Regions from separate parts of the Homo sapiens genome. Here all the other regions are linked to region 1. Evidence: promoter capture Hi-C in 16 types of primary human blood cells and fetal thymus (Javierre and others, 2016). All regions are on one chromosome and are shown on one strand. The core of a region is centred on a gene start or on the middle of the fragment in contact, and the rest is flanking DNA. Distances in the headings are between cores, read along the strand shown. Region 1 holds the start of ZHX3 (zinc fingers and homeoboxes 3). Region 2 has its middle 94 kb from the start of TOP1. Region 3 has its middle 79 kb from the start of CHD6. Region 4 has its middle 70 kb from the start of TOP1. Region 5 has its middle 53 kb from the start of TOP1. Region 6 has its middle 9.3 kb from the start of CHD6.

Evidence for each region. Contacts are between HindIII fragments. The CHiCAGO score rates a contact against its expected background, and 5 or more counts as called.
Region 2: a fragment that was not itself captured here is called in contact with the fragment with the promoter of ZHX3 in region 1 in 4 of 17 cell types (fetal thymus, total CD4 T cells, activated CD4 T cells and 1 more); the score reaches 6.6 in fetal thymus.
Region 3: a contact is called between a fragment that was not itself captured here and the fragment with the promoter of ZHX3 in region 1, in 7 of 17 cell types (activated CD4 T cells, non-activated CD4 T cells, total CD8 T cells and 4 more). The highest score is 8.9, in activated CD4 T cells.
Region 4: a contact is called between a fragment that was not itself captured here and the fragment with the promoter of ZHX3 in region 1, in 8 of 17 cell types (activated CD4 T cells, naive CD8 T cells, naive CD4 T cells and 5 more). The highest score is 22.3, in activated CD4 T cells.
Region 5: a fragment that was not itself captured here is called in contact with the fragment with the promoter of ZHX3 in region 1 in 11 of 17 cell types (non-activated CD4 T cells, total CD8 T cells, naive CD8 T cells and 8 more); the score reaches 16.3 in non-activated CD4 T cells.
Region 6: a contact is called between a fragment that was not itself captured here and the fragment with the promoter of ZHX3 in region 1, in 1 of 17 cell types (naive CD4 T cells). The highest score is 5.8, in naive CD4 T cells.

Annotation. Positions count from the first base shown.
Region 1 is chr20:41,315,632-41,319,966 of GRCh38, forward strand. ZHX3 (zinc fingers and homeoboxes 3) reads right to left here and starts at 2,100. Exons shown (of 4, transcript NM_001384317.1): 1 at 1,878-2,100. RefSeq lists silencers at 1,620-1,909, 1,920-2,369 and an enhancer at 2,480-2,529. The HindIII fragment of the contact is 7,702 bases long and covers 1-4,335 here.
Region 2 is chr20:40,932,267-40,936,601 of GRCh38, forward strand. No RefSeq gene overlaps it. Among named protein-coding and RNA genes, the nearest start is that of TOP1, 94 kb to the right of the region's middle. The HindIII fragment of the contact is 2,473 bases long and covers 1,344-3,816 here.
Region 3 is chr20:41,695,699-41,700,033 of GRCh38, forward strand. No RefSeq gene overlaps it. Among named protein-coding and RNA genes, the nearest start is that of CHD6, 79 kb to the left of the region's middle. RefSeq lists a silencer at 3,512-3,806. The HindIII fragment of the contact is 500 bases long and covers 1,857-2,356 here.
Region 4 is chr20:40,957,000-40,961,334 of GRCh38, forward strand. No RefSeq gene overlaps it. Among named protein-coding and RNA genes, the nearest start is that of TOP1, 70 kb to the right of the region's middle. RefSeq lists an enhancer at 3,937-4,335. The HindIII fragment of the contact is 7,671 bases long and covers 1-4,335 here.
Region 5 is chr20:40,973,943-40,978,277 of GRCh38, forward strand. No RefSeq gene overlaps it. Among named protein-coding and RNA genes, the nearest start is that of TOP1, 53 kb to the right of the region's middle. The HindIII fragment of the contact is 2,601 bases long and covers 1,284-3,884 here.
Region 6 is chr20:41,625,508-41,629,842 of GRCh38, forward strand. No RefSeq gene overlaps it. Among named protein-coding and RNA genes, the nearest start is that of CHD6, 9.3 kb to the left of the region's middle. The HindIII fragment of the contact is 674 bases long and covers 1,423-2,096 here.

The sequences.
Region 1 (4,335 bases), core at 850-3,349:
ACATGATCTGAATTTTTTAAAGGATTGCAAAGAGAAACACAAGTTCCTACTCATAAAACAAAGATGTATCTCTCATAATCTAGTTATAAGTCAAAGAAAAAAAGCATAGAATAAAAGTTGTGTAGTATGATAGCATTTTTGTAAGAAAAAACACGTATACATGGGAACAAGGCTAAAAGGCTTAATACCAAATTGTGATTTACTATGGTTTGTGGGATTATGGGGTTTTTTTTGTTTTGTTTTGTTTGCAATGCTTTTCTTTGTTTTTCAAGTTTTCTGCCTTAAACATGAATTACTTTGGTAATTTTTAATGTTATCTTTAAAAAGAAAAAAGCACTCCACCATGAGACTTCCCTTGTCTGAAATCTTACTTCAATATGAAAAAAAAAAAAACAAACTCAAAACCAAAAACCAAAACAACATGGGGAACATTTTTTTCCAAAAATTACCACACTTCCCATGCAATGTTTGCCTGTCATGAACCACTGCACAAATCAAGCCCCGCTCAATGTATCAAGGTCACAAAACCAACTTGGTTAATATGTTGATCATTACATAGTGGCTCTGTCCTCTACAGCAACTTTGATACCATCTTTCCAAGGCAGCAACAGAAGGGCCCTTTTCATTCATTTTCTATGTGTCTTTGATACTATTTTGCGCTTCTGGATTTTTCCACTGTATGTCTCTTAGAAACAAATTAAGCTCGAATAAGTTGTTCCAGCTAATGAAGTGCGCTTTTGGCTCCTTCTCCGTGGTTCAGAATTATCCGGCAAAATACCAATTGTTTTAGGATGCATTTTCTCTTAGTTTTGAAATATTGCAATACTAAGTTACCACAAATAAAGAGCATTGAGATAACAACACACAAGAACGTGTATAAATGGAAACTACTGTAATCCTTTTTTAAATTAAGGACGTGTGGACGCCTCATGAATAAACATTTAGGATATCTGGATAAATATATACTATGTGTTCACATAGATAAAAACAGAAAGGAGCATTCCTTCCTACCTCACTCCCCCACCCCAAGTCACATAAGTTTCTCGCAGGGCACAAGCCCAGGGCAATCACTGCTCAGAAATGTAAACCATGCAACTCAAAATGACTCAAGCCCTCAAACACTCCCCACCTAAGTCCTACATCCCATCCACTCCTCAATCACTTCCAACAGGCTTCCCTGAATGAAAATCCCAAACTGGGAAGGCTTAACAAGCTCCAAACTCCACTCACACGCCACTCAGGGAATCCGAGGACCTGGGGCCCACGTGTAGTGTTTTCGCGTGGGCAGACAAGGGTCCCAAGATTCAGGGTGCTACTGTACCCCGAGTGGTTCGAGTCCTGGCTCTGCCGCCTTCACTGGTCGAGCTGACGCTCTTTACACCGGGGGCATGGGCTGCCACATCCCAGCAGAGTGCAAGGGCCCTCGGGCGTGGACGCAGGCGGCTCTCGGGTGCACACGCGGAACGCACACTCGGGCATGCACTCTCACACGGTCAGGCGGGCCTGCGCGAACGCCCCCGCTTCCCCTCTACCACCCCCTTTTGCGCCTTCTACGATGGTGGCACGCGGGGCTACCCTGACCCCTAGGACCCCTGGACGCCCGCTCCTGGAGCCCGGGGGGTGATGACAGATGGCGGAGGGCGGGGCTCCGGGGGGAAGGGGCGGAGCCTCTCAGCATGGGGGTGCTGGCGGCTGACAGAAAGACCAGGGGCAGCCGGCGGGAGGGGGCTGACTGAGACTGCGGGCCGGCCGCGGGCCAGGCGTGGCGGGAAGGAGCTCGCGCAGACACAGGGTCTGACAGGCAGAGAGAGATACAGACACCGGGGACTGACAGCCGCGGGGGCACGCGGGGCCGGCTGGCCGTGGCGGGCGCTCACCTGGCAGCGGCGGCGGTGGCGGCGCCCGCGACCGGGCCGCTCTTCCCGCGCTGCGGGCCTCCCTCCCCGCGGCCGGGCGGGCGGCCGGCGCAGGCCCCGCAGAGGCGGCGGCGGCGGCGACGCCGGAGCCGCGGACTGCTGAGCGGCGGGGACGCAGCTGCACCAACCGACTCCGGGCCGCTCGGCTGGGCTCGGCCGCTCTCGGAGGCGCTCGGCTCTGCTCGGCCTTGCACGGCTCCCCTCGGCCTTGCTCGACTCGGCTGGGGGCGTGGCCCAGGCCCCCCAGTCCGCCCAGGTCGCCTCTGGCGGCCGCGGGGCGGGGCTTTCGAGCGGGTGCGAGCCCCCTGACGTCGCGGGGAGCGGACCTTGCCCCCGGCGCATGCGCCAGCACTCCTCCTCCCCCCTCCTCCCCGCCCCACCGTGTGGAGGCTGAAGAAGACGGGGAAGGAGGCGCTGGGGGCGGATGCTGCGGTCCCAGAGGTTCCTGGCTTTTGTACTCCATATCCTGCTCTTTCCAGAGGACCACTTAAAGAAGGTCACACCAGGTTACACTTTCAAAAGGATGTGTGTGTAGGCTGGCAGGGGCTCTCGCTCCTGTCTGCCCCCACTCCTCCAATTCCAGTGTTTCCCAACAAGCGTCGACTAGGAGTGGTCTTTTATCCAACCAAGGGTTCACTGCAATTTTTAATATTTTCTGTTTTCTTAAGAATAATAACAAAAAAACTAACTCTTGATCACTGTTTTAACATTGAGTCTTCAAGTACTTGAACTTTCAAACATCAGTCAGCCTCCTCGAGTCCACTAATACCGTCCTTTCTTCATAGCTGTTGTATAACCTGTAATGCCTGGGATGGGGTTGGGTTCTTTCCTGAATTCTCGTCACATGATCCAGGCACCTTTTTAGTTATGGAACCAAGTCTGCAGCAAATATGCTCAGAAAGTGGCTCCCACCTTTAGAATCCAGTGATTAGTAAACAGCAGGAGCTCTACGGTCTTGACACACCTGGATGGGAATCCCAGATCTGCATTAATCTAGCAGGTTAATAATTGTCTGAGTGACTTTGGACGTGTTAATCTCTCAACTGTAAAAGGGCAATGAAACATGAGTAAATCAGTAGAAATATTAAAAGGGTTAAATGACACCACATATAAAGATTTCTGCACAGTGCTTGGTGTTCAATAAGTAAGGCTGCCTTTAACTTCAAGTAACTTTAGAACCTTCAGATCCTGAAAACCAGGGAGCATATACACAAGTGTGAGCGATGTGTCCAAGTAAACAAGTCGATAGTCAAACACCCATACGTGGCACCTTAGCTTGCTCCTTTCACAACCTTCCCTACCTCAGTTCATGTCAACTCCATTCTTCTGATGACTCCAGACAAACCATTGGAGTCATCCTGGACTCCACTCTCCCTATCATATCCCACATGCAACCCATTAGAAAAGCCTGTCAGCTCTACCTTTAAAATACCCCTTTTCCTCTTTCCTGGAATATTGTAGTAGCCTCCTGCCTGTTCTCCACGATTCCACTGTGCTCTCATGGTGCCTTCTCTCAACACAGAAGCCAGAGGGATCCTGTTGAAACCTAAGCTCAAAAGCCCCCAGAAGGTTTCCCATCTCAGAGTAAAAGCCAAAAAAAAAAAAATATGGGGGCAGTGGGGTGGAGAGTGGGACACAGTCTCACTCTGTCTCCCAGGTTAGAGTGCAGTGGCCCCATCACAGCTCACTGCAGCCTCAACCTCCCAAACTCAAGCAATCCTCCCACCTCAGCCTCCCAGGTAGCTAGGACTACAGGTGCACGCCACCATGCCCACCTATTTTTTTCATTTCCAAAATGTGGTTTTTTTCCCAAAGGCTTCCAAGATCCTATGTGTCTGCCCTTCGTCCACTTATACTCTCCACCTCTCTAACTGCACCTCCTTCCACTCGGCCTCCTCATTGCATGCCAGGCACACTAGCCTCCTTCTTGCTCCTGGAATATGGAGGCTCACTTCTACTTCAGAACCTCTGTACTTGGTGTTGCTTCCTCCAGATATCAGAAAGGCGTGTGCTTTCCAAGTTTCTACTCAAAAGTCACCTCCCCAGACTTTCCCAGACCACTCTACTAAAGTATCAAGTCCCAACTCCAATCACTATCCTCTAAGCCTGCTTTACTTTTCTGCCTAGCCCTTCTAACCTGAATATCATCTATAATATCTCTGAAGGTGGGAACTTTGTTTTTCCCATCTTCAACATCTAGAACATGGGTCGACATGTTCAGGTACTCAATAAGTATTTCTGGGATGAATGAGAATGTATATAGGTTATACTGCTCCAATACAACTTCATTTATTCAACAAACTTTTCTGAGCATCTATTTTGATCCAGGCACAGTGGGATCCTGAGAAAAATGAGGTATTCTCCCGACCTTTGAGGAACAGTATTTCAGAGGAAACAGTCATGTAAAAAAAATACTTCT
Region 2 (4,335 bases), core at 1,330-3,829, 380 kb before region 1:
AGCAATAATGCAAAGACCAGAGATGATGAGAGCCTCAAGCCCAGATGAAGGGGTCATGGGTAGACAGACTGAGTCAGAGAGGTCCTTGACCTTACCCAGCAGGAAGGAGGGGCTATTCCCAGGTGAGCCAAGGCTGTGAAGAAGGACTTTGGCCTCTAAACCTCATGCCCAGTTTGGCCCCCACCTCAATTCTTGTTCCCACTGCAGAGAAATCTTCTTGCACAGCCTGGCAGGTTGTACCTTTTAATAGAGGAAATACTGGAAACATAGGTGTGACATTTCCTATCCTATAAATATGCCCTCTACTCAGAGCCAGATGATACTGAGAAGGACATCCTTCATGCTGCTACACAGCATGTCTGTAGCCTGTACAGAGGGAGTGGGGGTGAGGGGGCCCAGTGAGGCATGATAGTTGACCTCATAAGCAGATACTTTTCATGGGGATCAAGCTGTCAGTTTTGCAGGGGGACCTGGGAACTCTCAGACTGGGGGCATTGATTCCAGGAGCCTGGATGCAATCCACTGACCTACAGACGGACCACAGGATGTGCTGCTCCCTGGTGAGTGGGCTTGAGGGTATGCTGGCCCCTTACATGACCCTTGGGTCAGGATACGACCCTCAGCTTGTGCTGGACTTTGAACTACCAAATCCTATGGGTCTTCCAGATGATAAAGCCTCATTTAAACAGAATCTTTCCAACATCCCAATGATTGGAAGATGATGATTCTCATTTTACAGAGATAGAAAAGAGGGAGGGTGAAAGACGGAAACATTCTTTTTTTTTTTTTTTTTTTTTTTTTTGAGATAGAGTCTCACTTTATTACCCAGGCTGGAGTGCAATGGCATGCTTAAGAATCACTTCAGCCTCAATGTCCTGGGTTCAAATGACCCTCCCACCTCAGCCTCCTGAGTAGCTAGGACTACAGGCATGCACCACCAGGTCTGGCTAATATTGTGTTTTTTGTAGAGATGGGGTTTCACCATTTTGCCCAGCTGGTCTCGAACCCCTGAGCTAAAGCAATCCACCCATCTTGGCCTCCCAAAGTGCTGGGATTACAGGCATGCACTACCATGCCCGGCCTCATTCATTCCTTTATTTATCCAACCAATTACTTCAATATTGATAATCTAATATATTCCAGGTACAGTGCATACACTCAGTACAGTACACTGAGGCATAAAGAAGTAAACAGGGTAGGCAATGCCCTGCTCTCATGGAGCAGGGAGATAAACAATTAAATAATCAAATAAGAAATATGTTATTCATTATTTAATGTGACTGTGCAAAGGATATGGGGTAGGTTGAATGACTGGCTCCAATTCTCCACCCCTCTATGTATCAAGCTTTTTCAATATAACATTGCAATCCCTCCCATCCATGGACTTTGGCAAATTTGGGCATTGTTTTGGCCCATGAGATGTGAGTAGTCACGACATAAGCAAGAATCTTACATGAGCTTGTACAAGGAGGCTTACCCTCTTACACTTTAGCCATAGCCATGAGAACATACCCTGCCTAGCCTGCTGATCCCAGGAGATGAACAAGAAGTGGATGAGAGCTGAGCCACCAACCCATGAATGAAATAAATACTTACTATTGAATGTCACTGAGATGCTGTGCTATTTTTGCTGTTGTTACACAGCAGTAGCTTAACAATGTGGAGCATGATTAGAGATAATGAGACAGGAAGGTAGGCAATAGAGAAAGACTGAATTTAGATGGAGGATAAGAGATGAGTCAGTTTCGCTGAAAAAGAAATATTGAAACAGAAATATGAGTAACTCATAGATACACAAGAATGCAAAAGTGGGGAGAAGAGCTTCACAGGCAGAGGGAATAGCATGTGCAAAGGCCCTGAGGTAAGAAGGAGCAGGATGCATTCCAAAAATTCAAAAAAGGACAGGGAGCAAGGAGGCCAGGGAGCAAGGGAGAATGTGGTAGCAGATGATGAGATCAGAAAGGAAGTTGAGTAAAGGACCATGCAGACATATAGCATGACATAAAGTTTGCATTTTATCTAAGGGCAGTGGGAAGCTAATGAAGGGTGTTGAGCATACCAGCACCTGATAAAAATTCCTTCCACTGCTGAGTGAACAATGGATTAGGGGTAAGACAAGAGTGGGGAAAGGGATCCAGGGAGGAGGCTGCTGCAGCCACCAAAGTGGCAGGTGTTGGCCCAGGATTGGCAGGGTACTGTAGAGATAGAGAAAAGGGGACAAAGGCAGGGTGTGGTGGCTCACACCTGTAATCCCAACATTTTGGGAGGCCAAGATGGGAGGATTTATTGAGGCCAGGATTTCAAGACCAACCTGGCCAACATAGCAAGACCCTGTCTCTATAAAAGAGAGAGAGAGAAAAGGGAAAAAATCTGAAAGGTACTTTGAAGGTAAAGGTAACAGGACTTTTTCCAAAAATAGGCCTACATACACATGTCAGTTGACTTTTGAAAAACGTGCCAAGTCAATTAGATGGAGAAAGAAGGCAGAAAAGAGAGAAAAATCAATCCATAGTTTGTACCATAATTAAAAATTAATTCAAGCCCAGGCTTGGTGGCCCACACCTGTAATCCCAGCACTTTGGGAGGCCGAGGTAGGCGGATCACCTGAGGTCAGGAGTTCAACGCCAGCCTGACCAATGTGATGAAATCCCATCTCTACTAAAAAAAAAAAAAAAAAAAAAAAATACAAAATTTCGCCAGGCATGATGGCACACGCCTATAATCCCAACTACTGGAGACGCTGAGACACGAGAATCACTTGAACCCTGGAGGTGGAGGTTGCAGTGAGCCAAGATCACGCCACTGCTCTCCAGACTGGGTGACAGAGCAAGATTCCATCCCCCAAATATATAAATAAATAAATAACTCAAAGTTGAGCATAAAGTTGACTTCATTGATATTGTTTAAATTTCTACTTCAGAAAACACTATCAAGAAAATGAGAAGAATTAGAGTGAAAGCAAAAAGACTTCTCTACAGAATGAAAGAAAATATTTGCAAATCATGCATCTCATAAGGTTCTAATGTCCAGAATATATCAATAATTCTTACAACTCAATAATAGAAAGACAAACAACCCAATTTAAAAATAGGCAAAAGATTTGAATAGATATTCTTCAAAGAAGATATACAAATACCCAAGAAGCCCATGAAAGCATGCTCAACATCATTAGTCATTAGGGAAATGTAAATCAAAACCACAACAAGATACCATTTCACACTCATCAGGATAGCTATCATCGAAAAGATGAACAATAACAAGTGTTGGTCAGGATGTGCAGAAATTGGGACCCTCATACATTACTGGTGAAGCTGCTTTGGAAAGCAGTTTGGCAGTTCCTCAAAAAGTTAAACATTGAGTTACCATGTGACCCAGCAATTCTATTCCTTGGTATATACACAAAAGGAAAAAAAAAAGTTCTCACAAAACTTATATGCAAATGTCTGTAGCAGCAATTATTCCTAATAGCCAAAAAAAATTGAAACAACCAAAATGCCAACCAATTGATGAATGGATAAACAAAATGTGATTTATCCATACAATATTCCTGAATTTAATATTCAGCAGTAAAAAATAATGAAGTATTGACACATGCTACCACGTGGGTGAAACTTTAAAACATCATGCTAAGTGAAAGAAGCCAGTCACAAAGGATGACATGTTGTATGACTCCATTTCTATGAAATATCAAGAATGGTTAAATCTATAGAGATACAAAGTAGATTAATGTCTTCCAGGGGTTGGAAGAAGAGGGGAATGGGAAGTGCTTGCTAATGGGAAGGGAGTTTCTTTGTATTTTTTATTATCTCATAGTAAAGCTTTAATAAACATCAGTTTCCATCCTCCCAGTTCTAGCCAAATTACTTTAATAAAATATATCTGTATATACAGTTTTTTCAGCTTTTATTTTGGATTCAAATTTGGTACATGTTCAGGTTTGTTACATGGGTATATTGCATGATGCTGAGGTTTGGGATATGGATGATCCCATCACCCAGAAAGTGAGAGGTAGAGAACCAATAGGTAGTTTTTCAGGCCACATCTCCTCTCTACTCGAGTGGTCCCCAGTGTCTATTGCTTGTGATGGCATTTCATCGGGGGCGATGAGAATGTTCTGGAATTAGAGAGTGATGATTGTACAACTGCATGAATATACCAAAAACCACTAAATGGTATGCTTTAAATGGGTGAACTGTATGGTACATAAATGTATGGTACATAAATTTTATCTCAATGAAGCTGTTAACCAAAAATAAAAGAGCATAGACCTAATGTAAAGCCTAAAACTATAACTCTTCAGAAGAAATATAGGAGAAAATCCTTGTAAGTTTGAGT
Region 3 (4,335 bases), core at 857-3,356, 380 kb after region 1:
CTTGTGCACTCTCAATTCACTTCTTGTCCCCCTGCTGTGTAACTACTGGTTTGCCTACCAGTCTTTCCCAAGAGACAGTGAGCTCCTCCTCTTGGGGATGTGTTTTCTATCTTTGTATGATGCAGAACACAAGGCCTGGCAGTTGCTCTTTTCTTTCTTTCTTTTCTTTTTTTTTTTTTTTGAGACGGATTCTTGCTCTGTCGCCCAGGCTGGAGTCCAGTGCAATGTCGGCTCACTGCAACCTCCGCCTCCCGGGTTCAAGTGATTCTCCTGCCTCAGCCTCCCAAGTAGCTGGATTACAGGCATGCGCTACCACGCCCAGCTAATTTTTTGTATTTAGTAGAGATGGGGTTTCACCATGTTGGTCAGGCTGGTCTCAAACTCCTGAACTCAGGTGACCCAAAGTGCTGGGATTACAGATGTGAGCCACCACACCTGGCCATTGCTGTTTTCATAACAAATATTCATTAAGAGAATGAGTGGAACAGCTAGCCATGACTAGCCTCCACTTGTCACCTGATGAGAAGGTGACATGTGGTTCTTATCCTTGGCAGAGTGGAAATTAGCATCCAAAAGGACGCAAGAAGAGATGAGTAAAAAATCTACACTTACCCATGAGCCAGATACTGTCTCATCCACTGTCTCATTTAATCTTTGTGACAATCATAGTTCTCAGTTTTTGCTGCTAAGAAAACTGGTGCCCAAAGGCTCTGCCTAAAGATTACCCAACTAGTAATGGAGAACCTCGGTAGGAAATTGGGTCTTTCTGATCTCAAAGGTTGAGCCCCTCAATATTCCTTCTGTTCTTTTTGCCCCATCTGGCACCCGTTACTAGCACAGAAGCCCGGAAAGTTTAAGAAACAACTTCTGTCTCTGGTGTGTCATTTGTACCTCTGAGGACATCAACTTGGAACAGCCATTGTACCAGAGTTCTGTCTTTTCCAGGAATCAGTGACTCATATCAGTCTCTGCTGATATCAGCTGCTGAAGGGCTTAGGAGAACTGGTAGGACTCAGAGGAGCAGAAAATCCAGGAAAGGGCACTCTTGGCCAGTGCTGTTTAATAGAACTCTTTCAGATGAGTAAAATGTTCCATATTTGTGCTTTCCAGTATGGGAATGTCTCAAGTTCCTTTTTAGACAGTATCTCCAGCCCCCTCATTGGTTCCTGACTTCAGGCTGTTTCCAAGACATTCAACTTGAGACTACAGATCCCTGGGCTAGGTCTTCAAGGGCCCTCCAGATCCAAGCTATGCCTCAGTTTTAGCTGAAGTTGTGTCCAAGAACACAGGTCAGGGTACAGGGAGATGGGATACGTATAGCTCCAGACATGGCCAGTGCATTGTTGATATTGCCACCCCAGCAAACTGCCTAGAACTTGGCCCAGAGCAGATGCTAGGTTAACATGGTAGATGAGTGAATTTACTTTCTCTTCCCCAGATTGGGGCTCCCTCACCTACTGCCATTGGCTTCTGGAATCCTTCTCTATCATTGTGAACTGATGACTTGCCACATGGTGAAGATTAACGAAGCCAGTGCTTTGAACCACCACCCTGACATTTTGGGGGTAGGTCAGGGGGGTAGCTACAAAACCAGCTAGTAATAATTCATTGAAAATATGCTGGATCCAGCATTTTTATGTAATGACCTCATTTTTCTTGTGAAACCCTGTGTGCAAAATGAAAGCCCAAATGAGCATCTGCTATATACAGTTAGGAGTAGGGTGGTGCTGGGGAAAGAGGACTGATCTAGGAGTTACCCTGGACCTGGGGCTCATAGGCTGTATGACCTTGAACAAGATGCTCAATGCTTCTGTGCCCCAGTTTTCTCTCAAGTAAAATAAAAACATTGGACTCTAAGCTTCTTTCTACAGTTAATGTGAATGTTTAAAAAATGGCTGGTCACATCTGTGATCAACCTACATTAAGCACCTTTCAAGTGATTACTTGCTTCAATTAGGTCCATTTTCATTGTTTACTTTTACTAACAGTTTTTTTTCTTAACCCTTCCACTTCCAGTGCCTTCCTCATTCTTCACTATTTTTTGATTGTTTCTTCAGATTCTGATAAATCATCTTCATTTCCAGCCATTGAATCACCTGCTCCTTGGCCCTGCCTAGAGGCTCTTTAATCCTCAGCAGTTTCAATTTCCTGACAAAGCACACAGAGGGGGCCCGGTCTCCCTCCTCTTCCCTTGCCCACTACTCACCACTCTCCCATCTAAAACACATCTGAAAAATCAGGGAGGTTTCTATTCTGGCAGTTGTCTCTCTCACCACTAGATGGCACATGCAGGTCATCAGTCTTTTGGGCAAAAACTAATTTTATTGTGTATTTAAACTCCATCTCAATCCACAAAAGCTTTGAGGGGAATTACAAAAGTACAAAATATACAAAAGGATAAGACAAAAAGTTGAGGTAGCTGGAGAAAATAGAAAACAAGTGGAAGAAATAACTCCAGGATGACATTAGCTCAAAAAGATCAACACCAGCAAAGGCTTACACATTTGGCTCCGAGCTTCCAAATGGCCAAAGTAAAGAGGGAAATGTGAGTGGTAATAAAATTCTAGATTTTATGTGAGAAAAACAAATATTTGGGAGAAGCTCAACTTTTCCTGACCCTGAGACCAAAGAGATATTTTTCCCGTGGGTCAGCTGACTGAACAGTGATGCAATACAGCGGTGACTTAATTGGAGCTGTTTCTTATAATGTCCTTTTATGCAGGCCTATGGCATGACGCTCAAGTATAATTGAGGAAAAGCAGTTCTACTGGGCTTAAAACATGAGTTTCCAGGACAGAGTAAATTCACTGTTTGTTGTGGGCCTCCGTAGTTTGAAACAGTGAAATCTGCACACCTCCCTGTTCCAGAGTTTAGGTGGAGTTTGGGGGAGAGGGGGTTCTTCTTGGAGACTGTGGTAAGCAGTTTCTAAGAGGGCCACCAATGATCCTGCCTCCTGGTTTTCAAACCCTATCTGGTCCCCTCCCATGTAGCAGCAGTAATGGTCTGTGTCACCAGCAGAATGCAGGAGAAGCAGGGCCGGGCATAGTGGCTTATGCCTATAATCCCAGCACTTTGGGAGGCCGAGGCAGGAGGATTGCTTGAGCCCAGGAATTAGAGACCAGCCTGGACAACAAAATGAGACCTCGTCTCTACAAAAAATACAAAAACTAGCCAGGCATGGTGGTGTGAGTCTGTAGTCCCAGATACTACGGAGGCTGAGGCGGGATAATTGCTTAAGCCCAGGAGGTTGAGGCTGCAGTGAGCTGTGTTCATGCCATTGCACTCCAGCCTGGGTGACAGAGCAAGACCCTGTCTCGAACAAACAAACAAAAACAAAAACACCCCACCAAAAACAGAATACAGGAGAAATTATGGTATGTCACTTCTCAGATCAGGTTAAAATACATCATAGCTTCTCTCTTGGTCTCTCTGTCTCTGGTTTTGTCTCTCTCTTTCTGTCATGCTAGGGAAAGCCAGGTGCCATGTCATTAGGAGTCTTGAGAGACCCATGTAGTAGAGAACTGAGCCTACTGTCAACAGCCAGTGTCACCTTATTAGTCATGTCAGAGTACCACCTTGGGAGCAGATCCTCCAGCCTCAGTCGAGTCTTCAGAGACTAAATCCCTGGCTAACACCTTAATGGCAAGAAACCTCATGAGAGACCATGAGCCAGGCCATTCAGCTAAGTCACACCTTGGCTCTATGAGATAATAAATGCTTGTTATTTTAAGCTGTTAAGTTTTGGTATAATTTGTTAAGCAACAATAGATGACTAATACAAAGGCCAATAGAAATCCAAGGTTGCATCAAGGATAATTTTACATGGGTAAGTCTACTTGGTTTCAGAGACCAAGAGAATATTTCAGAAGCAACTCAAGTGGGCATTATTTTTAACTTTTAGTTTAATTTAATTTAATTTTTTAAAAGACAAGTCAAATTTCACAGTGGGGCGTTGCATAGCAATCTTAGTGACACTAATGTTAATAAATTTGGATGACGTACTACCCTTGGACCAGCCCATGGGGGCTTCAAGTCTGATAGATATGGGCTCATATTCAGTCTGTGAATGTAGAAAGACAGAGGTAGAGGGATCCATGTAAAATGTCTGCAAAGGAGATTTCTCTGAAGAAGGACTGTGGGGGCAAGGACTTCAACTTCCTTATTCATGGTGACATCATCGGTGCCTAGCACAGAACCTGGCACGTGGTAGGCTTTCTACAAATCTTTCTTTTCTTTTTCTTTCTTTTTTTTTTTTTTTTGAGACACAGTTTTGCTCTGTTGCCCAGGCTGGAGTGCAATCTTGGCTCACTGCAACCTCTGCCTCCTGGATTCAAG
Region 4 (4,335 bases), core at 1,035-3,534, 360 kb before region 1:
TATTTATCACTCGGGATGATTTATTGACTAATTACACTTGCAGTGGCCGCTGGCTCTAAGTATGGACGATGGGGGGAGGTGGGGTCAGTCCGGCCATCAGTGCTGCCCTGGACACGTCTGCCGCCTTCCGTTCCAGCCTTGCCATTCACATGTAGGCAAGAACATGCTCTCGAATATGGATGTTCAGACTCTGAAGGAAGCGGGAGAGAAGGGAGAAAGGGGTAGGTGAGAAATGGAGAGATTGTCTGGTCCCAGCCATTTGCCCCTTCCTGCCCCTTTATCCATGGAGAAGACACGGTGCAGAGAGCAGCAGGCAGGGTCGCCAGGTAAACACGGTTGCTCAGTTACTTTCAAATCTCAGATAAACAATGAACAATTTTTTAGGGTAAGAATGTCCCAAATATTGCATAGATGTCATGTAAAACCTGGCAACCCTGGCCCCAGGGCCATGAGGGACCTGGTAGAGTATTGAGCTGATGTCACTATGAGAAGTTCCAGTGTCCATAACCATAGCCCAGTCTCACTCTGCACGCTGCTCTCCCCCTGCTCAACCCATGGGCGTCCCACTAGGGGCTCTGGGAAGATGTGACTTCTCGGAGCTGGTGGGCAAATCACACAGCCTTGCTGAGCCTTATCTGCAAAACAGAGGCTCCCAGCCTGTCCCAGTTCTTCCCCTTCATGCTGCACAGGGCTGATGGGGATGGACAAGTCTGTCCCTTGCCAGCTACATGGTGGAGGGCCTATGGCAAGGGCTGCCATTGGGGCTGGCAAGACTGGGCCCCCATCCACCCTAGGAAGGTTGAGTTTCCTTTAGTCCTCTTGAAGACATAGTAACTATAACTCAAAACTTTTGTTTGTATCATTTTCCTTGAAACCTTGGCTTTGAGCTAGGAAAGGACAGAGGGTCAGCTGGCACAGCCTTTGTGGAAAAGCGCAGTGTATCTATCAAAGTTAAAAATAAGTGGATGTTGTGGCCTGTAATCCCAGCACTTTGGGAGGCTGAGGCGGGCGGACCACCTGAGGTCAGGAGTTTGAGACCAGCCTGACCAACATGGCGAAAACCCGTCTCTACCAAAAATACAAAAAAATTAGCCAGGCGTCTTGGCGCGCGCCTATAATCCCAGCTACTCGGGAGGCTGAGGCAGGATAATCGCTTGAACCTGGGAGGCAGAGGTTACAGTGAGCCAAGATTGTGCCACTGCGCTCCAGCCTGGGCAACAGAACAGGACTCCATCTCAAAATAATAACAATAATAAATAAGTGCCTGTTGTATTTAAAATAGAAGCACTATATGAGGACTTAGTAAATCAATCAACCAATAACTACCCCTTTGACATAGCAATCCCACTCCCAAGCATCCAAACCAGGGAATAACAAGGATGTTTCTATTAATACCGCCAAGTCACAAACAACCTGAAATCAATCTAAAGGGGATGAGATGGATGGACTGTGATGTAGTCAAAAGAAGACACAGAAGTCATCAGAATGAGAGAAAGATATTGCCTAACCTGCAAAGATTTCCAAGATATATTATTATTATTAATCATTATTATTATTAGAAAAAAGCAAGTTGAGAACGTTCCAGACCAGGATTCCTCAACCTTGGCACTACTGACATTTTGGGCCGGATCATTCTTCGTGTTGGGGGCTGTCCGGGGCAAGGCAGGCTGTTTAGCAACACTCCTTTAGCACTCTACACACCAGATGCCAGGAGCACCTCCCTCCCCAGCCATGATGATCAAAAATGTCTTCAGATGGTGTCAAATGTCTCCTGGGGAGTAAAATTCCCTCCCCATCCCGCTTTCCCACCCCCCACAGTGAGAACTGGTCTAGACAGCATTGTCAGGAATGTTTACATGAACCAAAGTAAACACCTAACTAGAACTTCTATAGGAACTTAGGTAAATGTATGAATGCATAGCAGAAAGTCTGAAGGGAGTCTCCAAACTGGGAGCTGGGGTTGTCTCTGAGGAGGGAATTGGGAATTTGGGTGGGGGGGAAGAGAGGGATCTGGGGAGACCTTTGCTTTTGTTGTATGATCTGCATGTTTGACCATGAGAATGCATGCATCTGTTCAGTACTTTTTTGTTCTTTGTTTGTTTTCTTTGAGAAGGAGTCTCACTCTGTCGCTCAGGCTGGAGTGCAGTGGCGCCATCTCGGTTCACTACAACCTCCACCTCCCGGGTTCAAGGAATTCTCCTGCCTCAGCCTCCCAAGTAGCTGAGACTACAGGTGCCCACCACCACGCCCAGCTAATTTTTGTATTTCTAGTAGAGATGAGGTTTCGCCATGTTGGCCAGGCTGGTCTCAAACTCCCGATCTCAGGTGACCCACCAGCCTCAGCCTCCCAAAGTGCTGGGATTACAGGCCTGTGCCACTGCACCCAGCCATCTGTTCAGTACTTTCATTATAAGAGAGAAAGGAGGAGAGGGAAGGGAAAGGGAGGGAAGGGGAGGGGAAGGGAATCAATGGGAAAGGAGGGTCAAGAAGGAGAAGGAGAGAAGGAAGGAAGGGAGGGAGGAAGAGAGGAAGGAAGGAAGGAAAGAAGGAGGGAAGGAAGGAAGGAAAGAAGGAGGGAAGGAAGGAAGGAGGAGGGAAGGAAGGAAGGAAGGAAAGAAGGAAGGAAGGAAGGAAAGAGGGAAGAAAGGAAGGAAGGAAAGAAAGAAGGGAGGAAGGGAGGGAGGGAGGGAGGGAATGAGTGGCAGAAGCCAAGTCTGCAGTTGGGAAATCATGGGACGTGCTGGCTTTTCCTCTCTGATCCTCAGTGTCCTCAAAGAGAAAGGCACAGCATAAACAGGTCTCTAAAGACCCCTCCTGCCCCGTCCACTGTTGAAGAGAGCCCCAAGGTGACCTGGCCCCCTCCCTCCCGGCTGTCCCTCCCACACAACCCAGTTGTTGCACAAAGAAAAGAAGTGCTTGGGGCTTCTCCTCCCTCTCAGCATCTCTGATTATGCCTCCCTGCAGGAGGAGGGGAGGTTGGGGCCTGGTCAGCAGCCCAGCTCCACACCGAGGACTTGAGGACTCGCTGGAGCTTGATTAAATAATTACACAGAATCTACTGAGTAATCATGCCCGTCTCAAGAAGCAAGGAGCACCTTCAGAGGGAGGTCCCATTAGTGATTTGGGGGCGTGTGAGTGTATTTGTCTACTGCCTATGATAAAATTATCATCAGAAGGCCTCATTTACAAAATGCATCCCTTTCCCCCATCTCCTTCCATCACCTCCCAAACCCAGAGATGTGTATAATGTAATCCCCATTCCACGGCAGAGGACAGGGACTCACGAGCTTTGGGGCTGGCTCAAGGTCCCAGCAGCAGGGGCTGGTGGCAAAGGTGGTCAAATACCAGAAAGTGCACACAGAGTGGGGACAAGGCTCAGGACTGAAACATTTTAGAAGAGGTTTTGTTTGTTTTTTATTGTTTTGTTTTGTTTTCTCGCTAGGATTATTTCTCTCCTTTCAGTTTTTGAAAACAAATCTAAAATCAGCCATGGGAGCCTCCCTAGGTCTTGCTGCCAAGAAAACAGCCGAGCATGGAGGGTGAGGGCTGGGACTCACTGCGGCCGCCCTCATTTCCGATTTACCCAGGCCAAAGGGGACTGCCAGGTGGAGAGGGGGAGCCCAGGCCATCCTGGGGCTCTGTTCTCAGGCCTAGGGGCCAGGATCTTCTGTAAGCCACCCACCCCCCAGCTCCAGGATAAGGACACCCCTTCCAGCCAAGCGCCTGGTTTAATTGGGAACGGAAATAAACGGCTTACAAGAGGCTACACCAGGGCTCTCTGTGGCCCACAGGGCCTGGTCCTGAGATTCCTGCTGCCTGCATGGCTTGGCCAGCTACCCACGCCAGGCCCCGTTGACTCATTTACACTGGAGCAGTCCAAATTCATCAATAATGATTTGTCTCTCTTCAAGAAGAGGCTCGCAATCAAAAGGCCATTAAAATTAAGTACTGGAGGAGCGGGGGCCAGGGAAGGGGGAGGGGGAAGAAAAGGGGGAGGGGTGGGGCCAGGCGGAGCTGAGTGTGAATCTCCACTGGATGTGGACACTTTCTTGTTGCGGGACCTTGGATGGGTCACGTCTCGTCCTGGTTTCCTCTTCTCTGAAACAGAAGGGCAGATATGGCTACAGTATCAGTGACACTGTGTATGGAAACACCCAGCAGGAAGAAGCACGAAGTGACCCTGCTATGAGGCTTCCAGCATTGGGACACATGGGGAAGGTGATGGATACTGAGCAGGGGTAATGCCAGCCTGCTAGGTCAGATCCCAGGGCAGCTACCCCTCACTGCCCAGCTGTCCTAACTCCAGCCCCTGAGTAACTACCCATTGCCACCTCA
Region 5 (4,335 bases), core at 1,334-3,833, 340 kb before region 1:
GTTGAATTTTATCAAATGGTTTTTCAGCATCAATTGAAATGATCTTATGATTTTTGTCCTTCATTCTGTGATTCTATGATTCTATGGGTTGTCTATGATTCTATGGGATTCTATGATTCTGTGATTCTGTGGGTTTCTCTTCACTTGTTGATTGTTTCCTTTGCTGTGTAGAAGTTTTTTTTAACTTGGTGTGATCCCATTTGTCCATTTTTGCTTTAGTTGCCTGTGCTTGTGGGTTATTATTACTCAAGAAATCCTTTACCTCTCCAATGTCCTGGAGGGTTTCCTCAGTGTTTTCTTTTTGTGGTTTCATAGTTTGAGGTCTTACATTTAAGTCTTTAATCAATTTGGATTTGATTTTTCTATGTGGTGAAAGATAGGAGTCTAGTATCATTCTCCTGCATGTGGATATCCACTTTTCCCAGCACCATTTATTGAAGAGAATGTCCTTTCCCCAATGTATGTTATTGGTACCTTTGCCAAAAATGAGTTCACCCTAGATATATGGATTCATTCGGGAGTTCTCTATTCTGCTCTACTAGTGCATGTGTCTGTTTTTATGCCAGTACTATGCTGTTTTGGTTCCTATAGCTATGTAATATAATTTGAAGGCAGGTAATGTGATTCTTCCAGTTTTGTTCTTTTCGCTCAGGATCGCTTTGGCTATTCTGGGTCTTTTGTGGTTCCATATAAATTTTAGGATTGTTTATTCTATTTCTGTGAAGAATGTCATTGGTGTTTTGATAGGGATTGCATTGAATCTGTAGATTCCTTTGGGTAGTAAGGACATTTTAACAATATTGATTCTTCTAATCCATGAATATGAAATATCTTTCCATTTCCTTGTGTCCTCTTCAGTTTCTTTCACCACTGTTTTATCATTTTAATTGTAGAGATCTTTCACCTCTTTGGTTAAGTTAATTCCCAGGTATTTTATTTTATTCGTGGCAATTGTAAATGGGATTAATTTCTTGAATTCTTTTTCAGGTTGTTCGCTGTTGGCAAATAGAAATGGTACTGACTTTGGTATGTTGTTTTTGTATCCTGCAGCCTTATTGAATTTGTTTATCAGTTCTAATAATTTTTTGGTGGAGTCATTGGATTTTTTCAAATATAAAGATTATATAATCTGAAAACAAAGATAATCTGAATTCTTTCTTTCCAATTTCGATGCCCTTTATTTCTTTCTCCTGTCTGATTGTTCTAGATAGGATTTCCAGTACTATGTTGAATAACAGTGATGAAAGTGGCCATCCTTGTAGTGCTTCAGATCCTAGAGGAAAAGCTTTCAGTTTTTCCCCATTCAGTATGGTACTAGCTATGGGTCTGTTGTATATGGGTTTTATTATGTTGAGGTATGTCCTTCTATACCCAGGTTTTTTGAGGGTTTTTATCATGAAGGGCTGTTGAATTTTATCAAATGCTTTTTCAGCATCAATTGAAATGATCTTATGATTTTTGTCCTTCATTCTGTGACATGATGTACCACATTGATTTATTTGCATATGTTCAACCATCTTTGCATCACTGGGATAAATCCTACTTAGTCATAAGGAATGATCTTTTTAATGTGTTGTTCAATTTTGGTTGCTAGTATTTTGTTGAGGATTTTTGCATTAAAATTCATCAGGGATATTGGCCTGTAGTTTTTGTTTTTTGTTGTTGTTGTTTGTTTGTTTGTTTTGATGTGTCTTTGTCTGGTTTTGCTATCAGGGTAATTCTGGCCACATAGAATAAGTTTGGAAGTATTCCTCCCTCCTCTATTTTTTGGAAGAGTTTGAGTAGGATTGGTATTAGTTCTTCTTTAAATGTTTTGTAGAATTTAGCAGTGAAGCCATCTGGTCCCAGGATTTTCTGTGCTGGGAGACTTTTTACTACAGCTTCTATTTCATTACTCATTACTTGTCCATTCAGGTTTTGTTTTTTGTTTTTTGTTTTTGTTTTTGTTTTGAGACAGAGTCTCGCTCTGTCACCCAGGCTGGAGTACAGTGGCATGATCTCAGCTCACTGCAAGCTCCCCCTCCCAGGTTCACGCCATTCTCCTTCCTCAGCCTCCTGAGTAGCTGGGACTACAGGTGCCCGCCACCACACCCAGCAAATTTTTTGCATTTTTAGTAGAGATGGGGTTTCACCGTGTTAGCCAGGATGGTCTCAATCTCCTGACCTCATGATCCGCCCACCTTGGCCTCCCAAAATGCTGGGATTACAGGCATGAGCCACCGTGCCTGGCCAGGTTTTGGATCCTCATGATTCAATCTTGGTAGGTTGTATGTATCTAGAAATTTATCCATTTCTTCTAGATTTTCTAACTTATTAGCATATATTTGCTCATACTAGCCATTAATTATCCTTTGAATTTCTGCAGTATCAGTTGTAGTATTTCCTTTCTCATCTCTGATTTTATTTCTTTGTCTTCTCTCTTTTATTCTTCAATTGTCTGTCTAAAGGTTTGTCAATTTTGTTTATCTTTCAAAAAAACTTTGTTTTGTTGATCTTTTGTATTGTTTTTTGTTTGTTTCAATTTCATTTATTTCTGTTCTGATTGTTAATATTTCCTTTCTTCTACTAATTTTGGGTTTGGTTTGCTTTTGCTTTTCCAGTTCTTTAAGATGTATCATTAAATTGTTTATTTGAAATTTTTCTTCTTTTTTGATGTAGGTGCTTGTAACTATAAATTTCCCTCTTGGTACTGCTTTCACTGTATCCCATAGATTTTGGTATGTTATGTTTCCATTATCATTTGTTTCAAGAAATTTTCTGATTTCCTCTTTAATTTCATCATTGACCCACTGGTTATTCACGAGAATATTGTTAATTTCCATGTGTTTGTATAGTTTCCAAAATTCCTCTTGTTATTGATTTCTAGTTTTATTCCATTGTGGTCAAAAAGATACTTGATATATTTTTCAAATTTTTTTAATGTTTTAAGATTTGTTTTGTGATCTAACATATGGTATATCATTGAGAATGATCCATGTGCTGAGGAAAAGAATGCATATTCTGCAGCTACTGGATGAAATGTTCTGTAAATATCTATTAAGTCCATTTGGTCTACTGTACAGATTAAGTTCAATGTTTCTTTGTTGATTTTTCTGTCTGGAAGATCTGTCCAGTGCTAAAAGTGGGATGTGGAAGTCTCCAGCTGTTATTGTATTGGAGTCTATCTCTCTCTTTAGGTCTAATAGTATTTGGTTTATATATCTGAGTGCTCCAATGTTGGGTGCATGTATATTTACAATTGTTATATCCTCTTACTGCATTAACTCATTTATCATTATATAGTGACCTTATTTGTCTCTTCTTATAGTTTTTGTCCTGAAGTCTATTTTGTGTGATATAAGTATAGTGACTCCTGCTCTTTTTTTGGTTTAAGAGGCATGGAATATTATTTTCCATCCCTTTATTTTCAGTCTGTGTGTGAAGTATGTTTCTTGTAGGCAACAGATCATTGGGTCTTATTTTTTTAATTCATTCAGCCACTCTGTGTCTTTTGATTAGAGAATTTAGTCCATTTATATTTAATGTTATTGATAAGTAATGGCTTACTCCTGCTATTTTGTCATTTTTGTTCTGTGGTCTTCTCTTCCTTCTTTCCTTTTTTTTCTGTCTTCATTTTAGTGAAGGTGATTTTCTCTGGTGATATGATTTAATTTCTTGCTTTTTATTTTTTGTGTATGCATTGTATGCTTTTGATTTGAGGTTACCATGAGGCTTGCAAATACTATCTTATCACCCATCATTTTAAGCTGATAGCAATTTCATAGTGCTTGCATAAACTAATAAGCAAAAAGAAAACTAATAAAGACTCTACACTTTAATTTCATCCCCCTGCTTTTAACTTTTTGTTTCGATTTATGTCTTACTGTACTGCCTATGTCTTGAAAAGCTTTTGTAGTCATCATTTTTACTGGTTCATCTCTTAGTCTTTCTACTTAAGAGCAGTATAACACACTACAGTTACAGTGTTATAACATTCTGTTTTTCTGTGTACTTACTATTACCAGTGAGTCTTGTACCTTCAGATGATTTCTTATTGCTCATTACTGTCCTTTACTTTCTGACTGAAGTATTGCCTTTAGCATTTCTTGTAGAACAGGCCTGGTGTTGATGAAATTCCTCAGCTTTTGTTTGTCTGGGAAAATATTTCTCTTTCATGTTTGAAGGATATTTTCATCTGATATAGTATTCTAGGGTAAAAGGCTTATTTTTCTTCAGCACTTTAAATATGTCATGGCATGCTCTCCAGTCCTGTAAGGTTTCTACTGAAAAGTCTGTGGCCAGACATATTGGAACTCCATTGTATGTTATTTGTTTCCTTTCTCTTGCTGCTTTTAG
Region 6 (4,335 bases), core at 510-3,009, 310 kb after region 1:
CTACTGTAGGGGTGAATCTGCCACAAGGCATCCTCCTGCCAGAAGCTCCATTCTCCAGCACAAAGCTGGATAAGACTAGTTAAGCCCACAGGCTTTGAAGCCCTACAGATGTGGTTCAAATCTCAGCTCTACCACTAGTGTCCTTAAGAAAGTCACTTAACAGGCCAGGCATGGTGGCTCATGCCTGTAATCACAGCACTTTAGGAGGCTGAGGTGGGTGGAACACCCGAGGTCAGGAGTTTGAGACCAGCCTGGCCAACATGGTGAAACCCTGTCTCTACTAAAAATGGAAAAATTAGCTGGGCTTGGTGGCACACACCACTGTAATCCCAGCTACTCAGGAGGCTGAGGCAGGAGAATTGCTTGAACCTGCGAGATGGAGGTTGCAGTGAGCCAAGATTGTGCCACTGCATGCCAACCTGGGTGACAGAGTGAGACTCCATCTCAAAAAAAAGAAAAAAAAAGAAAGTCACTTAACTTACAGTTTCATGATTCCAATAATAGGGTTGTTGTGTGGATTAAATGATTCATGCAAAGTGCTTTGCACATGGCAACTGCTCAACAAATTGGTTATTAATATATAATTATCGCAGCCTTTCCTCTGCCTCCCATTTCCCCGTGTTCTGTATAGACTTTCCCCCTTTGTCGACCTGCAGGTTTTGAAACATATTAATTCCATTGATTTAACTGAAGTCAATCTCTGTTCTTGTGTTTGGCTTGGGGAACCTTCTGTCTTTTGGAGTGCCTTCTACTGATATATGGCCTCTACCCCTCATGTATTAATCTCACTGATTTAACTCTTACAGTGCCACAGAGCTCTCACTCTCACCCATGTATAGCACTACCGCTATTTTGATTTTTTAAATCCAAGGTTATATATAAAAATGACTGTGGTCCCTTTCAGTTACTATGATTTATGGAAAATCACACCTCAAATGTTCTTGGGCAGGATTTTTCAAAAACGCTGGTCACGCTACCCTGAAACAGCTTCGTAAATCCTTCATTCTTGCTCAGCAGTGTACTTTCCTGCAATGACCATTAGACAGTTTCAGCCATAAAAACTTGCTTAAGGCCGGGCGCTGTGGCTCATGCCTGTAATCCCAGCACTTTGGGAGGCCAAGGCGGGTGGATCACTTGAGGTCAGGAGTTCGAGACCAGCCTGGCCAACATGGTGAAACCCTGTCTCTACTAAAAATACAAAAATTAGCTGGGCATGGTGGTGTGCGCCTGTAACCCCAGCTGCTTGGGAGGCTGAGGCAGGAGAATCACCTAAACCTGGGAGGCGGAGGTTGCAGTGAGCTGAGATAGCACCATTGCACTCCAACCTGGGCAATAGAGCAACGCTCTGTCTCCAAAAACAAACAAACAAACAAACAAAAAAAAAAAAAAACAAAAAAAACCACAGCAACAAAAAAGTTCTTAAGCTTTTTACTAAGCCTCAAGTTGCTGTAGAATCCTTTTCTTTATGTGTGCAATTCTACCATCAACATTACTGACCAATTTGGTGAGGCTACCGTCTGAAAACTGGTAATAAAAATAAGCAACACAGTTTTACATACTAGAAACAAAAAACTATAGTTTTAAAAAATTAATTAGTTTCCATGTTTTTGCTGAGGTGAAGCATGGTAACTGTCCTTCCAGTTGGCCCCCAGTGATACTCACTTGCTGTGATTCAAACCCTTATACTGCCCTCTCCTGTACTGAATAGACCTGATTTATGTATGTAACCAGTAGGATATTGCAGAAGTGACAGAGTGTAACTTCCAATGCTAGTCATAAATGGCATTGCAGCATCTGTCTTGCTGTTTTGGGTAATTTGCAATGGGAAGAGTCCATTGTCATGACATGAGGACATTCAGTCAGCCTTATGGAAAAAGTCTTTGTGGCAAGAACTCAAGGCCTCTTGTCAGGAACCATGTGAATGGGCCATCTTGGAAGTAGATCCTCCATGCCTAGTCAAGCCTTCAGATGAGACTGCATCCATCCCCAGCCAACATTTTGACTGCAACCTCATGAAAACCTAAGTCACTCTCAAATTTCTGACCTATGAAAACTATGTGAGATAATAAATGTTTATTGTTGTTTTTAAGCCACCAAGCTTTGGAGATAATTTGTAATGCAGCAATAGATAACAGTATTTCCTTGGGTGATACAACTGACAGCCATCATTAAGTTACTGTATATTTAAAATGTGCTTTGTATAAATTTGCCCCACATTTTAAGTGTTTTCTTAACATATGATCTACATCCAGATATTTTAGGTTATTCTATGACTCATTTCAGTCCCATTCAGCAAACATGCTGTATTAGTCTGTTCTCACACTGCTATAAAGAACTACCTGAGACTGGGTAATTTAGCAAGAAAAGAGGTTTAATTGACTCACATTACTGCAGGCTGGACAGGAAGCATGATTGGGGAGGCCTCAGGAAACTTACAATCATGGTGGACGGGCAAAGGAGAAACAAGCACATATTCACGTGGCGGCAGGAGAGAGAGAGAGAAAGAGAGAGAAAGAGAAAGGGGAAGTGCTACACACTTTTAAACAACCAGATCTCATGGGAACTCATTCACTATCATGAGAACAAAAAGGAGGAAATCTGCCCCCATGAGTCAATCACCTCCCACCAGGTCCTTCCCCTAACATTGGGAATTACAATTCAACATGAGATTTGGTTGAGGACACAGAGCCAAACCGTATCACTTGCATTGCCTACTTGTATCAAAGCCTGTTCGTAACAGAAAACTCCAGATCAACCATCAGCAATTTGAACGAAACTGATGGCAGTAAGTTGTTTTTCTCCATCCAATTCCATTTATTGTGAATGATTCTTATGCTTTCATGATTGTAGTTAAATCTCTGGATGCCAGGAAGTCCAGCTCCTACCACTTCTTTTGCTTCTTTTTGGAATATATGCCAGAAGGGAATAAAGTTGAAGAGAATGATGCCCCCATGTTACTAAAACATGCACTGTTACATTGACAGTTCATAATAGCTAATTTTATTGCATAATTAATATGAACTAAGCACTGCTTTTAAAATTTTTAAAAATAATTTCAATTTTTATTTTAGATTCAGTGGGTACATGTGCAGGTTTGTTACATGTGAATATTGTGTGATGCTGAGGTTTGGGGTGTGAATGATCCCGTCACCCAGGTGGTAAGTATAGCACACAATAGGAGTTTTTTCAGTCCTTCCCTCCTTCCTCCCTCCCACCACTAGTAGTCCCCAGTGTCTATTGTTCCCATCTTTATGTCCATTTGTACCCAATGCTTAGCTCCCACTTATAAGTGAGAACATTTGGTATTTGGTTTTCTGTTCCTACATTAGTTAGCTTAGGATAATGACCTCCAATTACATCCATGTTGCTGCAAAGGACATGATTTTATTCTTTGTTATGGCTAGATAGTATTCTATGGTGTATATGTACCACATTTCATTATCCAATCCACCATGGATGGCCATCTAGGTTATTCTATGTCTTTGCTCTTGTGAATAGTGCAGTGACGAATGTATGAGTGCACATGTCTTTTTGGTAGGATGACTTATTTTTTGGGGGGTATACACCCAGTAGTAGAATTGCTGGATTGAATGGTAGTTTTGAGTTATTTGAGAAATCTCTAAACTGCTTTCCACAGTGGCTAGACTAATTTACATTCCCACCAACAGTGTATAGGTATTCCCTTTTCTCTGAAGCCTCGCCAGCATCTATTATTTTCTGACTTTCTAATAATAGCCATTCTAAGTGGTGTAAGATGGTATTTCATTGTGGTTTTGATTTGTGTCTTGATGATTAGTGATGTCGAGGTTTTTTTTTAATATATGTTTGTTGGCCACTCATATTTCTTCTTTTGAGAAATCTTTGTTCATGTTCTTTGCCTACTTTCTTTATTTTTTGGAGGCAGGATTTCATTCTTTTGCCTAGGCTGGAGTGCAGTGGTGCGATCATGGCTCACTGCAGCCTCAACCTCCTGGGCTCAAGCAATCTTACATTAGCCTCCCGAGTAGGTAGGACTACAGGCATATGCCACCACATTGTAGTTTTTTGTAGAGATGGGGTTTCACAATGTTGCCTAGGCTGGTCTCAAACTTCTGGGCTTAAGTGATCTGCCTGCCTTGGTCTCCCAAAGTGCTGGGATTATAGGCCTGAGCCACTGTGCCTGGCCCTTTGCCTACTTTTTAATGGGGTTGTTTGTTTTTGCTTTCTTGATTTGTCTAAGTTCCTTACAGATTCTGGATATTAGACCTGTTTTAGATGCATAGTTTGCAAATATTTTCTCCCATTCTGTAGGTTGTCTGTTTACTTTGTTGAAAGTTTGTTTTGCTGTGTGAAAGC